Linked DNA regions of Homo sapiens: region 2 is linked to region 1. Evidence: promoter capture Hi-C in human tissues and cell types (Jung and others, 2019). All regions are on one chromosome and are shown on one strand. Each heading gives the region's core, a stretch centred on a gene start or on the middle of the fragment in contact. The rest is flanking DNA. Distances are from core to core; before and after follow the strand shown. Region 1 holds the start of AUTS2 (activator of transcription and developmental regulator AUTS2). Region 2 has its middle 100 kb from the start of CT66.

Region 1 (4,558 bases), core at 846-3,345:
AAATAAAGCACGAAATCAACTTGAAGTCATCTGTTGAGAAGGCCGTGGATAGACCTGAAAAGGAACATTTTGAACATTTAATTGAACCTCTTTGATTTACAGATGAAAAAACTAGTCATTTAAAAAAGTCTTGCCTAAGGTCAAATGTTTTGTTTCCTGGACTGGCATAAAGCTCATCTGTCACAGTCGGGTGGATGTTCCTTTCTGTTCCTGGCAACTTGACCCCCCCGTCCCCCCAACCCCATCTCTCCATCTGATTTCATAAAGATCCAGACCTGGGATTCAGAAACGGGGAAGCTGAAGGAGTGTGACCTAAAACAAGAGAAAGACAAGCTATTAAATTGTTATTAGGAATTATAAGACGAGAGAGGCTTGCCTGCTAGAACGTCAAGAAGCAGTATCTTTTCTGTTTTGTACAACGCTGTATTCCCAGCACCTACAACTGTGCCTGCTAAGCCTGGTAAGGCCTAATAATTGTTAAATGAAAAACAATCAATCACTCAATCATAGATGTGTCAGATTGTGAGAGAAAACACGTCCTTACTGTTTTCTCTACCACCCTCCTTCCAGTAATACTAATAAAATGTGCACATTTGTATTCTAAAGAGGTGAAATCATATACACAGCGCTCTAGCACGGTGCCTGGCCCATTGTAATTAATACATGCCAGTTTATTTTCCTTTTCTTCCTCCACAAGTATGGGCTACTAGGGAGGACGAAGGGTTGGTGCCGTGGTGTTTATGTGCCTGGACAGAAAGTGAAGCGTATCCAAGAGGCTGCTGAGAGCGGGCTGTCGGTCTTTCTGATCCGTATAGATCAATTCCAGTGCCCTGAAAAACGCACAGCTATTTTACCCAGAGAGGCTGGTCGCTTTTGTTGATCGATTCTCGGCTGCAGTCAGCTCTTTAATACAACTTTTTATGAGCATCAGCCACATTGCGGCGGGAGGAGGGGCTGTGGTGGAAAAAGCAGGGAAACCGCCCCCCACTCCCAAAAAGTAAAGGAAGCCCGCGGGGCAGGGACTGCGGTTTGCCGGTCTAACGGGTCCTCGAGCTGGGGCGGCGGTCCCGGCCCCTTCGGCCCCGCCCCTCGCCCGCGGCCGCCTCCGAGGTTCAAGTTCGGCCCCCGGCTGTTAGGCCTCGCGCTCCCGGATCTGAAGCCGCCCGTGCGTCCCTAGGTCCCCCGCTGGAAGACGAGGCGGGAATCCCAGGGGTCATCCGGGCGCGGGGTCGCTCGTCCACGCACTGTGGTGCCACGTGGAGGAAAAGTTTCCAACTCTGCCAGTTGGTGCTCCCACTGCGCCCAGGCGGAGCAAAGGCCCGCGCTTTGGCACCCGCTCCCCGTTCTGTCTCCTCCAGTCGCGCCCCCTCCCAGGGACGCCCCCCTTGTACCCCTTCTCTGAATTCCCTTCTCTCCTCGCAGCGCAGGTAGCCAAGGGAAAACACCCTTGGGGGCTGGTGGGGCTTCCCGAGAAGGCGGCCTCGGGCCGGCCAGGGGTAGAGGATCCAGGGACAAGTGTCCCGAGGAGGATGTGGGGGGCGCGCGCGCGAAGTGGCCTGGGAGCAGGGGCCCACACGCGTCCCCGCTGCGACAGGCGGGATCCTCCGGCGGCTTCCACGCCCTGGCGCGCCAACTCTGCCCGGCCGCGGCCGACCCCACGCGGGCGCCCCCTCCACGCCCCCGCCCCCGCCCCCCTCACAGCTCCCCACCGCCCCCAGTGCGCAGGCCCGGCCGCCCCAGCGCGCATGCCCTGGGCTCGCGAGCGCGGCCAGCCCCCAGCCTTTTGCTTTCTACACACTCTACAACTGGGGAGGGGGCGGGGGAGGAGGGAGCCCAGCCGTCCACGTGATCCCGCCGGCCGGGGCCGCGGGGGCGGGAGCGCGCGCCGAGAGAGGCGCGGGGAGGGCGGGTGCGCGGGAGCGCGCGCACTCGAGCGAGCGAGCGAAAGCACGAACGAGCGAGCGAGCGAGCGAGCGAGCGGGCGGGCGCGGGGTTGGGCTGAGGCGGGCGGCGGCGGCGGCGGCGGCGGTGGGCTGGCCGCGGAGGGGGAGGAGCGGGAGCTGCGCGAGGCAGGCGGGCGGGCGGAGGATGGGGCAGTGCCCGGGCTCCCGCTGCAGCCGCCCGGGGACACGCCGTGCACCCTCCGGCTCGGGGCTTTCTCGGCGGCGGCGGCGGCAGCAGCAGCAGCGTTAGCGGCGGCGGCGAGAGCAGCGTTCCCGGCTGCGCTTCTCCCTCAGGCGGGGCGGCGAGAGAAGCGGCGGCGGCGGCGGCGGCACACCGGTGTCTCTCCCGCTGGAGATTTCTTTCTGCTTTCCTCATCGACTGACTGACTCACCCCCTCCCTTTTTTGAGGAAGGGTGACCTCTTCTCTGGGACTGGAAAAAATATTTTTGTGAGGAGGGGGGCGGGTGGCAGCGACAGGGTTTGCTTCTTCTCTTCTTTCATCTCCCTCTCCTCCCCCCTCGAAGACCGAAAAGCAAACCCCACAACTGCTCCAGCAGCATCCTCCTTCCCTTCCTCCGCCTCCCTTCTCCTCCGCCGCTCGCAGTTTCGCCCTCTCTTCCGCTAATGATTGCATTATTATGCTCCCCTCTCTGGGGGGTCTCGCCCCTCTTGGGTCGCTCCGGAGCCCCGGCCTCCCCTGGCTGCATTTCTTAAAAATTTGGGAGCCTGGGAGTGAGTTTTCTCCGAGGCGTGTGTGAGAGGCGGCGGGGGTGTTTTCCTGCGCGAGGGGCGGGTGAAGTTCATTGCCCCCACTTTTCCCGCGACCTTTTTCGGACCCGATTTTGGATCGAGTTGAGGGGGGCGCGGGCGTTTTCGGGGGGCGGGGGGCGCGGCGGAGAATGGCCGCGGGGAGGGCTCCCCGGAGCCTCCCAGTCTCTTGATCAAAGCATTCCGCTATTCTGATTTATTGCTTGCTTGGTGAGTTATTTTTTTTTCCTCTAAAGGAGACCTGTGTGTTCAGCCATTACTTTGCTCGGCGCTGCTCCCAGGCATCTCCGACCCTCGGTGCTGTGGGGAGCCCCACACTTGGGCTCCTCGCCTCTCGCCCTCGCTCCCCGTCCCTCCTCCCCTCTCTCCGCCCCTTCCCCCTTTTCTTTCTCCTCTCTTTCTTCCCCTCTCTCCCTTCTTTCGGCCGCCGTCTCCCCCGCGCCCTCCTCGGGGCGGAGGGAAGCCGTGAAGGGGGAGGGAGGGCTCGGTGTCAATTTTTTTTTGTGTGGCTGCGGCCGTAGCCTGTGGCGGGCAAGCGGGGAGACCCCGGCGCAGCAGAACCATGGATGGCCCGACGCGGGGCCATGGACTCCGCAAAAAGCGGCGGTCGCGGTCGCAGCGAGACCGGGAGAGGCGCTCCCGGGGCGGGCTGGGGGCCGGCGCGGCCGGCGGCGGCGGGGCTGGCCGGACCCGGGCGCTCTCACTCGCCTCGTCGTCGGGCTCCGACAAGGAAGACAATGGGAAGCCCCCGTCCTCCGCCCCGTCCCGGCCCAGACCCCCGCGGAGGAAGCGGAGAGAGTCCACCTCGGCAGAAGAGGACATCATTGATGGATTTGCCATGACCAGCTTTGTCACTTTTGAAGCGCTGGAGGTAAGGGGGACCCCCCTTCCCCCGGGTTCCCTTTATGCACGACCCCACTCGGCTGCGCCCGGCTCTCCTGCCTCCCTCGCCGCGCTCCGGGCTGTCTGTCTGTCTGTCTGTCTGTCTGTCTGTCTAGGCTGAGGTCTTATTGTTGGTGGGGGGAGCTGGGGGCGCGGGCAGACAGGCAGCAGGAGGGAGTCGCAAAGCCGTGCCTGGTCTCGTTTCCTCGCTCGCCTTTCCCCTGCGCCCCCTCCCTGCACCCCCTCCACAGCAGATGGGCAGAAAGAAAGGGGTTCGGGCATCACAACAATGCGCCCCCTCTCCACAGAGAGCTCTGCCCCCACTCCTTCCTCCTCTCCCTCCCCAATCATGGCTTCTTGGCTGGTGGAAGTCTCTTTGCTGGGTTTGGGGCGCCTGTGGACGGTTCTGTGTGCTTTCTACAGAGTCATATGTTCGTGTGTGTGTGTGTGTGTGTGTGTGTGTGTGTGTCTGTGTAGTATATACCTTTCCCGGGTGTCCTCGGGACTGGAGACTGATGGGGTTTTGTGATTTCTTTGCGCCTCCCCCCATTACCCCCCCATATTCTTTTTTTTTTTTTTTTTTTGGTGAAGCTGGGGAAGGGGGCGTTTTCTCCTGGTTGGGAGAAAGGAGGGAGGAGGGGAGAGAAGAGGGAAGGGTGGAATAGCTCTCTGTATTCTGTATGGGGTTCTGTTACAGAAAGGGTTAATTATAATATTATCTATACACATACATAGGCACATGTGTGTGTGTACATGAGCAATTTAGTTAAAGGACAGAAAAAGGTACACCAGGGAAGACTGGTGGGAGGGAAGAATAAAATCCTAGCTGCTATCTGAAGGGCTTGTCACCAATTGTCCCTCTCCCTTTCCTTTTTTGTGTTTTCTTTTTTTTCTTTCTAAGTGATTGGCTTTGTGTGTGTCTATGTGTGTGTCTTTCTTTATTCCTTGGGCACCTGCAGCGTTG
Region 2 (4,558 bases), core at 1,314-3,813, 100 kb before region 1:
GAACCATTGGGAGTGACCCTGAGCTCTGGACACTTCAATTGGCCCCTCCACTTTAACACAAGGAACTTCACCCACCCTGCCACTACTACTGCTGCCTTCAGTACTGAGAGAGCTCCACACCCCTGCCTTGTAACTTTGGGACCAGAGCCAGTTTGACATGGTTATAACCAATGGCACAGCCTAAGTCACATGCCTGAACGCTAGTTTCAAAGGACACTAGGAAAACAAATTTAGATTATTTTTAAGGACCTGGCATGTTCAGTCATGCCTGTAATCCCAGCATTTTGGGAGGCCAAGGCAAGAGGATCACTTGAGGCCAGGAGTTCAAGACCAGCCTGGACAACATAGCAAGACTCCATTTCTACAAAAAAAAAAAAAAAATTAATCAGCCAGGTGTAATGATGCACACTTGTAGTCCCAGACACTCAGGAGGCTGAGGTGGGACAATCTCTTAAGCCCAGGAGTTCGAGGCTTCAGTGAGCTATGATTGCACCACTGCACTCCAGCCTGGCTGACAGAGCGAGACTCTTGTCTCTAAAAGAAAAAAAGTGGGCCGGGCGCGGTGGCTCACGTCTGTAATCCCAGCACTTTGGGAGGCCGAGGCAGGCAGATCACGAGGTCAGGAGATCGAGACCATCCTGGCTAACATGGTGAAACCCCGTCTCTACTAAAAATACAAAAAAATTAGCCGGGCTTGGTGGCGGGAGCCTGTAGTCCCAGCTACTCAGGAGGCTGAGGCAAGAGAATGGCGTGAACCTGGGAGGTGGAGCTTGCAGTGAGCCGAGATCGCACCACCGCATTCCAGCCTGGGTGACAGAGCAAGACTTTGTCTCAAAATTAAATAAATAAATGAATAAATAAATAAATGAAAAAAAGTGATAGTTTTAGGGCTTATACAGGGTAGTTTTTGCCCTAAACCAAGATTCAAAAAATGAGGCTTTTCCTAAGCAGAGAATGGGATTCAGTTGCTACATGACTGTGATGAATGACAAATATCCACCCCAAGTACCATTCAGGAACTATACTTCCAAAGTCTCATTTTTATAATAACTGGTCCTGTATTTATGAATAAGAATGTATACACAGCACAAGCTGGCCATAGGTCAACAATGTCAGTGGTTCCAAAACCTAACTATTCATCAGAATGATTAGAGGATCTTTGTTCAGGCTCCAGGTATAGAGATTCTGATTCAGGGGGTCTAAATCAGGGCTTCAGAATGTGCACTTTTAACAAATCCCCCAGGTAACTCAAACATGATCAGGCTCCAGTCATTTGGAAACTAGATTTTTTTTCTTTCTAAAAAATTTTTATATTTTTTAATAAATAGAAACGGGGTTTTACTGTGTTGCCCAGGATGGTCTCCAACTCCTGGGCTCAAGCGACCCACCTGCCTTGGCCTCCCAAAGTGCTAGGATTACAGTTGTGAGCCACCTCACCCAGTCTGAAAACTACTTGAAACCCTGTCCCTACACTCACAGCCAACAGAAAGCAAATACTGGCCTAACATTAGTTTTGCTCCTAAAGTCCAAGAAATGGCCACATAAAGAATCCATTCTCATATTCTATAAATTTACTATAAAAGATATCAAATTCAGGGAAAACTAATAGGTAATTAATAATTTAAGCTTGTCTATATGATGAATTTTTGTGTGGAATTTTATTTTTATTTTTATTTATTTATTTATTTATTTATTTTGAGACAGAGTCTAGCTCTGTCACCCAGGCTGGAGTGCAGTGGTGCAATCTCGGCTCACTGCAACCTTCGCCTCCCAGGTTCAAGCAATTCTCCTGCCTCAGCCTCCTGAGTAACTGGGATTACAGGCATGTGCTGCCATACCTGGCTAATTTTTGTATTTTTAGTAAAGGTGGGGTTTCACCATGTTGTCCAGGCTAGTCTCAAAGTCCTGACCTCAAGTAATCTGCCTGCCTTGGCCTCCCAAAGTGCTAGGATTACAGGCATGAGCCACTGCGCCTGGCCAAATGCAAAATTTTTAAATGGTCATTGCAAATAGTTTTTTCGTTTGTTTGTTTGTTTTTTTTGAGACAGGGTCTCACTTTGTCACCCAAGCTGGAAAGCAGCCACGCAATCTCAGTTCACTATAACTTCCACCTCCTGGACTCAAGTGATCCTCCCACCTCAGCCTTCTGAGTAGTTGGGACCACAGGTGTGCGCCACCATGCCCAGCTAATTTTTGTGTTTTTTTTAGAGACAGGGTTTTGCCATGTTGCCCCGGCTGATCTTGAACTGGCCACAAGCAATCCACCTGCTTTGGCCTCCCAAAATGCTGGGGTTACAGGAGTAAGCCACCATGCCTGGCCTGCAAATAGTTTTTAATAGCATGAGAAAGTGTTTATTATACAATATTAAGAGAAAAAATCATGACACTCAATATTATGTGTGTGGGCGGGGGGGTAGGGGAGTTGGTATATAACATGCTTCCAACCATGTAAAATAAATGTATGCATAAATAACAAAAGCAAGATTTAATATGTGTATTCCATGCCTTCCCTTCTCCACCCACTAATGGCAAAGAGGCCAAAAAAAAAAAAAAATTAAGAGGAGGATTGAAGTAAAGAAGCTAAGTCTGTCAAGATAATAAAAGGCTGGGGAAGAAGGGGAAGTAAACAGTAAAGACTGCAGTTGCAAAGGAGAGGAAGTATCTTTTGAAAAGAGGATCTGTTGCCAGGTGCGGTGGTTCATGCCCATAATCCCAGCACTCTGGGAGGCCGAGGCAGGGGGGTCACTTGAGGTCAGGAGTTTGAGAACAGCATGGCCAACGTGGTGAAACCTTGTCTCTACTAAAAATACAAAAATTAGCCAGGCGTGGCAGCAGGTGCCTGTAATCCCAGCTATTCGGGAGGCTGAGGCAGGAACCCGGGAAACGGAGGTTGCAGTGAGCTGAGATCATGCCACTGCACTCCAGCCTGGGTGACAGAAGGAGACTCTGTCTCAAAAAAAAAAAAAAGGTAGACATGACCTATCACACTGATCTTTTTTTTTTTTTTTTTTTTTTTGAAACGGAGTCTCGCTCTGTCGCCCAGGCTGGAGCAGTGGCACGATCTTGGCTCACTGCAACCTCCGCCTCCCGGGTTCAGGCCATTCTCCTGCCTCAGCCTCCCAAGTAGCTGGGACTACAGGCGCCTGCAACCACACCTGGCTAACTTTTTGTATTTTTAGTAGAGACGGGGTTTCACCGTGTTAGCCAGGATGGTCTCGATCTCCTGACCTCGTGATCTGCCCGCCTTGGCCTCCCAAAGTGCTGGGATTACAGGCATGAGCCACCGTGCCCAGCCCACACTGATCTAATCAAGAATTTTTCATGGGAATTCTGGAATATAGATTCTCTCTTCTCTACTGAACATGGAAGAGGAAGCTTGCAGACCTGGGACAGAGTTTCTCAATCTCAGCAGCACTGACATTATGGGCTGAGCAATTCTTTGATGTGCTGTCCTGTACATTAAGGGATGTTTAGCAGCACCCCTGTTCTCTACCCACCAGATGCTAGCAGCATCACATCCCTTTCCCAGAGTTGTAACAAGCAAAAGTGTTTCCCGACATTGCCAAATGTCCCCTAAGGGGAAATATAAAATCACCCCCAGTTGAGAGCCACTGTCCTGGAAGTAGCTGAGTGTCAACCTAGGACGAAGAGTCGGAAGCCCTGCTGAGAACAGAGCCAGCTTGGAACAAACCGAGCTGAGACATGGAGGAGGGAGGAAGAGTGGGAGTCGGCCTGGTGCAGTGGCTCACGCCTGTAATCCCAGCACTTTGAAAGGCCGAGGCGGACAGATCACCTGAGGTCAGGTGTTCAAGACCAGCCTGGCCAACATGGTGAAACCCCGTCTCTACTAAAAATACGAAAATTAGGCCGGGTGCGGTGGCTCAGGCCTGAAATCCCAGCACTTTGGGAGGCCGAAGCGGGCGGATCACCTGAGGTTAGGAGTTCGAGAGCAGCCTGGCCGACATAGTGAAACTTGGTCTCTACTAAAAATACAAAAATTAGCCAGACGCAGTGGTGCTCACCTGTAGTCCCAGTTACTTGGGAGGCTGAGGCTGGAGAATCGCTTGAACCCGGGAGGCAGAGGTTGCACTGAGCTGAGATCGCACCACTGCACTCCAGCCTGGGTGACAGAGTGAGACTCTGTCTCAAAAAAAAAAAAAATTAGCTGGCGTCGTGGCGCCTGTAATCCCAGCTACTCAGGAGGCTGAGACAGGAGAATCGCTTGAACCCGGGAGGCAGAGGTTGCAGTGAGCCAAGATCATGCCACTGCACTCCAGCCTGGGCAACAGAGCCAGACTTCACGTCAGAAAAAGAGTGAGAGTCACATTGTTTACGTCCAGAAAAAGCCTCCCCTGAAGCCAGAATTAATTCTCACCTCTGTTATCAAATTGAACTGGGGTTCACTCACCCAGTGCAATATGACCACAACATCCACACCAAGGTTTGCAGCAGAAGAACGGAAGGCATTTATTTGCAAGCTCCAAGCAAGGAAAATCAAGCAGCTCATGCTTAAGACCCGAACTCCCTGATGGCTTACAGGTAAGGGTTTTTAAAGGCT

The links. Contacts are between HindIII fragments. The study calls those that stand out against the background at their distance.
Region 2: a contact is called between a fragment that was not itself captured here and the fragment with the promoter of AUTS2 in region 1, in 2 of the 25 tissues and cell types used here (H1 embryonic stem cells and hippocampus).

Annotation. Positions count from the first base shown.
Region 1 is chr7:69,596,380-69,600,937 of GRCh38, forward strand. It overlaps AUTS2 (activator of transcription and developmental regulator AUTS2), which reads left to right and starts at 2,096. Exons shown (of 19, transcript NM_015570.4): 1 at 2,096-3,583. The coding sequence starts at 3,275. It overlaps CT66 (cancer/testis associated transcript 66), which reads right to left and starts at 1,245. Exons shown (of 3, transcript NR_148927.1): 1 at 668-1,245; 2 at 276-312; 3 at 1-54. RefSeq lists enhancers at 1,266-1,345, 2,526-2,575 and silencers at 1,656-2,075, 2,096-2,175, 3,340-3,409. The HindIII fragment of the contact is 7,960 bases long and covers 1-4,558 here.
Region 2 is chr7:69,491,441-69,495,998 of GRCh38, forward strand. No RefSeq gene overlaps it. Among named protein-coding and RNA genes, the nearest start is that of CT66, 100 kb to the right of the region's middle. The HindIII fragment of the contact is 4,629 bases long and covers 250-4,558 here.